Linked DNA regions of Homo sapiens: region 2 is linked to region 1. The links are contacts of gene promoters, found by promoter capture Hi-C in human tissues and cell types (Jung and others, 2019). All regions are on one chromosome and are shown on one strand. The core of a region is centred on a gene start or on the middle of the fragment in contact, and the rest is flanking DNA. Distances in the headings are between cores, read along the strand shown. Region 1 holds the start of SLC40A1 (solute carrier family 40 member 1). Region 2 overlaps COL5A2 (collagen type V alpha 2 chain).

Region 1 (3,475 bases), core at 649-3,148:
TCGGTTTTGGCTTCTGGGGACTCCTTGGTGACAATGGAGAACAGAGACTCCATATCACATTTTGAGGTATATGCTGACTTAGCCACTCTTTCCACAAATACTTCTTAAACAGTGTCTACGGGAAGTAATTTTTTTTTTAACCAACCGAACTTTTAAAAAGCCACCTGGAAGTTGGGGACAGCATGACACCCCTTCTTATAATATGTAATAATTAATGTAAAGCACTTGGAGGTCCTTGTTGCTGAGACACACTCTGACAAATGTGCAAACTATCACTATCCTTTGTGCCTTGTTGAGGACCTGTCAAAAAATTCATCTCTAATAAGGGATCGCCATAAAGTGGAGGGGTTTATTTACCAGTTCACTCCTTCACTTTAGTTCACTCATCTGAGTATACTTTGGTTTATTCTCAAGGATGCATGTATAAATGACCCTATTCTCCACGGTTAGCAAACCAAAACCTCTCTAAATTGGGAGAAAGAACTTGAATGTCGTGTGAAAGAAAGGAAAAAAGAGGGCTTGAAAAGGCAAAAAGCAGTGAAAAGCAGTAGTTAAACTGTAACCCCTATCTCTACTCACCAGACCACATCCCAACCGAATCCAGCTGCACCCACCCCGTAGACCTTTGGGGCTCCTGATTGAGAGTGCAGATACAGGGCACATACTCATGCGTGGCTCCCTTCACTACTGGGTGTCAGTCTGGCCTGTGCTCAAGGTGTGGCATCTGGTTGGAGTTTCAATATGTAGGATCCACTACCAGGGTTTTCGTGAGATTAAGAAGGGTAAGGTAACCTACTGGCAAAAGGGGCTGGTATGCCCCAGGGGTTGGTTTGGCACAGCAGGATTAAAACGAAGTCAACCAAGGCTAGAGTCTGGTGTTCTTTAGTCATTCACCTCACCCTCCAGGAGGCCACCGAATGGCTTTATCTGGACAGGGACAGATCCAGGGACACAACTGGGATAACCGGTATTCCTGGTAAGCCTGTCACTGGGGCATTTGGAGGTTAGGTGGGGAAGGGACGCGCGCGTGGGGGCGGGGTGAGAGGGTACAGAGGGAGAAGGAATGATGGTGAAGGGTTTGCTGGGGCTGCAGCATCCTCATTCTGTCTCCAGGACGGATTTGGAGGCCCCAGTTTGGGGATACGGGTAGGTCTGTAACTCGCTGCGGGACTTCACCTTTGCAAGCCTCCGTTTGCTCCTCTCAAGAGGGATGGACTCTGATCTTTGCGCCCCCTTCCTGCCCTTTGATTCTGGTTCTTTGAGGGAAGCCCTGCTATGCAGTCCGGGGAAGGAAAGGCATTCTCTGCTGCAGGCGGGCCGGAATGGGACGGCCAGGAAAGCGGCCTCTGTGGCATGAATTATATTTATTTAGATACCTGTATTAAAAATTATTTTCGTTAAAAAAGGAATCCCCACCCACCAAGCTCGCGCTGGAGCTTTGCACTGCGACCGTCCGGCGGCCGCCCTTTCCCTGAACTGCGGGGTAGCCGGTGCGCAGCGCTTTCTTCCAGCACCTGACGCTTAGTTTCGCGCAGAATCTCCCTACGCCGCCCCGCCGGCTCCACGCGCCTTCCTCCTTTTCCCAGCCCCACGGCCGCCCCCCGAGGTTGCCCTCGCGGCTTCCCGGAGAGCAGGAAAACCCGGGGAGTGGAACGCGTCGAGGCGAAGGTCCCCGCAAGCCGCGCAGGGTGTCTGCGGCCGGTTGGACGCTTGCGCCCGGGGTGGGCGACTCCTCCGGGCAAGGGCGCGGGGACGGCCCGGCGCGCAAGGTTGACGGGAGCTCGTCTCGCGCCGCGGGGACGCCCGGGCGGCCCTGAAGGGGACGGGGCGGCCCCAGTCGGAGGTCGCAGGGAGCTCCGCCCCCGACTCGGTATAAGAGCTGGGCCCGGCCCACGGCGGCGGCGGCGGCGGCGGAGAGAGCTGGCTCAGGGCGTCCGCTAGGCTCGGACGACCTGCTGAGCCTCCCAAACCGCTTCCATAAGGCTTTGCCTTTCCAACTTCAGCTACAGTGTTAGCTAAGTTTGGAAAGAAGGAAAAAAGAAAATCCCTGGGCCCCTTTTCTTTTGTTCTTTGCCAAAGTCGTCGTTGTAGTCTTTTTGCCCAAGGCTGTTGTGTTTTTAGAGGTGCTATCTCCAGTTCCTTGCACTCCTGTTAACAAGCACCTCAGCGAGAGCAGCAGCAGCGATAGCAGCCGCAGAAGAGCCAGCGGGGTCGCCTAGTGTCATGACCAGGGCGGGAGATCACAACCGCCAGAGAGGATGCTGTGGTGAGTGTCGTTGACCGAAAGCATATGGTGGAAACCCAGGTGGGGCTTTGGAGACAAGCAACTCTACACGAGTTCTGGAGGAATGTGGCTCTGCTGTGAACCATAGCTTTGTAAAAAGATCCTTTGACTCATATTTGGTGGACGTTAAGGAAGAAAGGAAATTCAGGGTGTGGGAAAAGGGGTTTGCACACAGGCACGGATGGAGTAGATTGGGCAGTTTGGATTGCCTTGTGTAAAAAAGAAACAAAACAAACAAACCAACCAACCCAAAAAAGAATGCTGAAACAAGAGTTTCTTCACTGTATGTGAAATGTGAAGTTGGGCAGTTATTGACTAGGTCAATAACTGAATTTAGTGAATGGTATTAAGTGAACGAAATACATCGGTTCATAGGTAACTTGATAAAATGTACGTGGTTTGTCCTGCAAAGTAGTTTTTAATAATCATGTTCTAATGAGATCAAATGGATAAGCATTCTGCCCTCAGCTCATTAAGTGACTACCATCGCTTTTTGTCACCCCGCCTGTGTCTTTGCAGGATCCTTGGCCGACTACCTGACCTCTGCAAAATTCCTTCTCTACCTTGGTCATTCTCTCTCTACTTGGGTAAGTGAGAATGCATAGTCTTACAACACAGTTGCGCAATTTTTTATTTCCTTTCGTTCTAGCCAGTTGTATTAAGCCAACTTCCAGTTTTGTCAAGCAGTTAAAGAAATAAATCATCCAAGTACACATGCTTTAATGAAAACGTTATTTACATCGAAGATCTTTCCCCATGAGTGTTAGTTAATGCAACTTAATTATCAGATCATCGTAGTTTATGTAGATAGACAACTATCCAGACAAGATTATCAAGGAAAGGAATATTTGCCTTGTTTTTAAATTTTATGTTGCATTAGTAGCTTTGGTAAATAGACATATCTGCTACAAAAGATGGATGGATGTCTCATATACCTTCTCTTCTTCACATTTTAAAATATTTTGTTTTCTTTTTTTGTTAAAATTTAGTTCCAGCGTGCAGCACCATGAGAATACAATAGAATGGTAGAGTGACTGACTTAAGCTAATAATAACATTCTAAGATTAATTGAAACATAAATGACCCCCAGAACAAATATCTGAGTGACAAAAATTCTGGTCTTTAAAAATGTTATCTATAGTTAGATAAAGTTTGGGGCAGTGGAGGCTATCTTAAAATTAATCATCCAAT
Region 2 (3,475 bases), core at 567-3,066, 530 kb after region 1:
ACATTAATCTTCAGTTTCTTTCCAACGGATGAGCTGTTTTCACCTTTAAATAATGTTAGAGGTTCTGTGCGGATTACAATTTATGACTACTCATATGCAGTATGATTTTGAGAAACAGAGAACTTCTTTTTCATACTGAAAAACCTGTAAAGCTGTACCCAACTTATTGTAAATTCCTTGGGTACAGTTTTACCCTGGATAGTTTCTGATTTTAGTTTGTCCTCAACATTAGGGTCCAGATGGCCCCCCTGGTCCAGCTGGAACGACCGGGCAGAGAGGAATTGTTGGCATGCCTGGGCAACGTGGAGAGAGAGGCATGCCCGGCCTACCAGGCCCAGCGGTGAGTAGCTGCATCGGTCAATATTTTATCTCATATGTGCAATACAAATTGTTTAGAGAATTGATTTTATTTTTTTTGCTTGATGAATAGATTTAAACAGTATTGTAGGGACATTAATTTTTGAGTCTCTTAAAAATCTTTTGATCTTAAATGTCAAATTCTTAACTACCTTACAAAGTCTTTGAAAATATATATTTGTTTAACCCTGAGACTAGAAAAGTAGGCAAATAAGGATATGGATTTTTGGTGACCTTTAAATCCTTCTTCAAAGATTAAAAAGATCCCGGAGCTAGAGGAGGGGGATAATCTTCTGGTGAATAGGTAGTGTCTTTTTAAGTAAACATGCTTAACAAAAATACCATATTTTACAGTAAACCATCAAAGGGAAGACATAGTTGAGCTAAAGTAATATTTGAGGTGAATGTAGGGGGAATGCTGAAGAAGGATCTGAAGGTAATCTCCTGTTCCCTGGAGGGTGCTTTAGGATTTTATATTCCCTGGAGTATGGATAAAAGTTTGATTCAAAGTTAGCTTTGAAGAGACTAAATTTTATTGCTAAAAGATTACAGTGCTTGAAAAAAATTAATGATGTTTTCATATGGAATGTAGACAGAGAGATGTATGGGATCTTAGAACTGGGAGACATGTGGGTTGAAATATGAAACCAACAAAGTAGGAGCTAAGGGATGTCTTATTGTTATCAGAAGTGAGCCAAGAATGTGAAAGTAAAATCTCTCAAGAGTGAGATCAAAGTATCAGAATATAGAAATAAAATGAACAGACAAAGCAGAGCGGGGAAAAAGGATGAAAGTGATGCAAATTCCAGAAGGGCAGCTAGAATCACCTATGGTACACATGATTAGAACCCAAAATGCACACCTGTGCTGGTGGCAACAGATGGTTGGTTTTTGGTCCCTTAGATACGTCAAGAGGAGTCTGATAGGAGGTGGGCAGGCCTCTAAGAAAGCATTATGATTACATGAGTGTTGTAAGATAATGCAAAATTATTATTATAGAAGGAGCCCAGAGGCACCATTTTGAAAACTTAGCCTTTATGGGAACTAGCGTTCTTCAATTTCTTCACAAGTGTTTGACATTTATACTTCTATTTCAGGGAACACCAGGAAAAGTAGGACCAACTGGTGCAACAGGAGATAAAGGTCCACCTGGACCTGTGGGGCCCCCAGGCTCCAATGGTCCTGTAGGGGAACCTGGACCAGAAGTGAGTACTACAGTGAAAATAACTCTTCTCTTGTTATCTGGTGTCATGGAAACAATTTTTTTCATTTAGCAATTGATTTAGAATTTTATTGCATATTTGACCTTAAGAAAGTTTCTTAGTAATGTTATTTGATGTACTCTACTTCCCTAGAGAGTTGGCTAAGTGATGACATAAAGAAAAGGTAATAGGATCGGTGTCTTTGCACTGACCTTCATCTAGTCTGGAGCTAAGTATTTTAGTTCATTTAAGCTGTTGCCAAACTGTTTTGAGGGTGAAAGGACACATCCATTCATCTTTCCCTTGTTATTATTTCATTTTGTAATGACATATTTATCAAAATTGCCAAGTTTTTTGGTGATAGGATTAATATAGCTATTCCAGCTTGTGAAAAGGGCAAAGTTAGTAGAGATCATTTTACTTAAATATCACTATAAAGTAACATAATGGATATCATGTTCCTTTAGGCACTTTTGGGAGGAAATCAGTTTTTGATAGGCAATTTGAGAAGTTAAAGGCTGGAATATCCTCTGTTCAGGATTTTAAGGAGTGAATCATCAAACAGTTAATGTAACATTTTATTGAAAGAAAGAATCAATAGCCTTTGGAACAATTTTTGATCAAATAGCAAAGACATATTTATGAAAAAAATCACAATAAAATAGAAAAGGAAGACTATTTCTTAAAGTAGTTTAATATTGAAACAGTTATTTTATTTCAAAACTTTAAGGATATTTGAATAATCTTAAGAAGTAAATGTAAGAAAAGCCTTTCATTGTTAATACAAGCAAAACATAAAGTGGCAAGAATGTAATTGTTATCTATTTCAAAATATTTGTGGGTTTTTTGTTTTTCAAAATAAGAAATATAAATGAAGAATATGGATTAAGTAAGAATATGTTAATTTTACAGTAATTCAAAATAATGAAAAAGAGGTAGAAACCGTTCTTCTGCTGACATTTGCATAAATGCTAACTGACAGTTTATAAAACACAGGTGTAAAACATGCTGTCATTTTTTGACAATTGGAATGAGGATTTTTTTCATTACTCAGTTAAGTAGTTTTTCAAACCATTATTCTTTATAGGGTCCAGCTGGCAATGATGGTACCCCAGGACGGGATGGTGCTGTTGGAGAACGTGTAAGAGCCATTTCACTTATTATAAAATCTAAAGTCATGCAAATCTGAAATCTTTTTAATTTACACTAAAAACTGTCATTTTTCCTGATAGTTCCAATACACTTCTGATTTTTCTGAATAACAACTGTTTCTGTAAAGCCATAATTTTTATATCTTGTAAATGAAATGATATTTGAATATGCAACAAATTAAGATGGTATTTTTTCAGAGCAGGAAGATAAAATTGAAGCCATCTTTGGTTTAACATAAAGGCTTTGGATGAGGATATATATGAAGTGTTCTAAATTTTAAACTCATTAACAAAAGCATGAAAGCCAAAATAGTGCTGTGTAATGTCTAAATTTTTCCATTCACCATCTAAAGTGAATGCCGTATGAGAATATAAGCCATGTGGCTTTTTAAACACTGTATATTCCATGATGTGTTTTAAATTAGAATGTGCTGAACTGAACATGTCCCCAACTTTCTCTGAAGCCCCAGTCCCTTCTGGCAGTTGCACAGTCATCTCATGCTGCTGAGATGGGCCACTGAAGGCAAAATCACTCCCCACTCCAAAGTCTGTTATGATGTAATTAAAGCTCATCATGTAGCAGAATGGGCTTTGGAGCCAGTCAGACTTGATTTGGAATATTGTTTCCCTAAGTAATTAGCTGTGTAATCTTAAGCAGATTTTCTGAACCTCCATTTTCAAATGCTTTAAATATAATTAATACATATGCCATTGGGCATTTGTATATTAAATGACATGTTTAAACACTCCACTACAGGATAGACA

The links. The method cuts DNA at HindIII sites, captures the fragments that hold promoters and counts their contacts. A contact is called where the count stands out against the background at its distance.
Region 2: a contact is called between a fragment that was not itself captured here and the fragment with the promoter of SLC40A1 in region 1, in 2 of the 25 tissues and cell types used here (aorta and thymus).

The regions. Positions count from the first base shown.
Region 1 is chr2:189,579,209-189,582,683 of GRCh38, reverse strand. It overlaps SLC40A1 (solute carrier family 40 member 1), which reads left to right and starts at 1,898. Exons shown (of 8, transcript NM_014585.6): 1 at 1,898-2,266; 2 at 2,804-2,871. The coding sequence starts at 2,224. RefSeq lists silencers at 1,645-1,814, 1,885-1,944. The HindIII fragment of the contact is 17,191 bases long and covers 1-3,475 here.
Region 2 is chr2:189,047,434-189,050,908 of GRCh38, reverse strand. COL5A2 (collagen type V alpha 2 chain) reads left to right here. Exons shown (of 54, transcript NM_000393.5): 43 at 233-340; 44 at 1,455-1,562; 45 at 2,647-2,700. Among named protein-coding and RNA genes, the nearest start is that of MIR3606, 54 kb to the right of the region's middle. The HindIII fragment of the contact is 9,231 bases long and covers 1-3,475 here.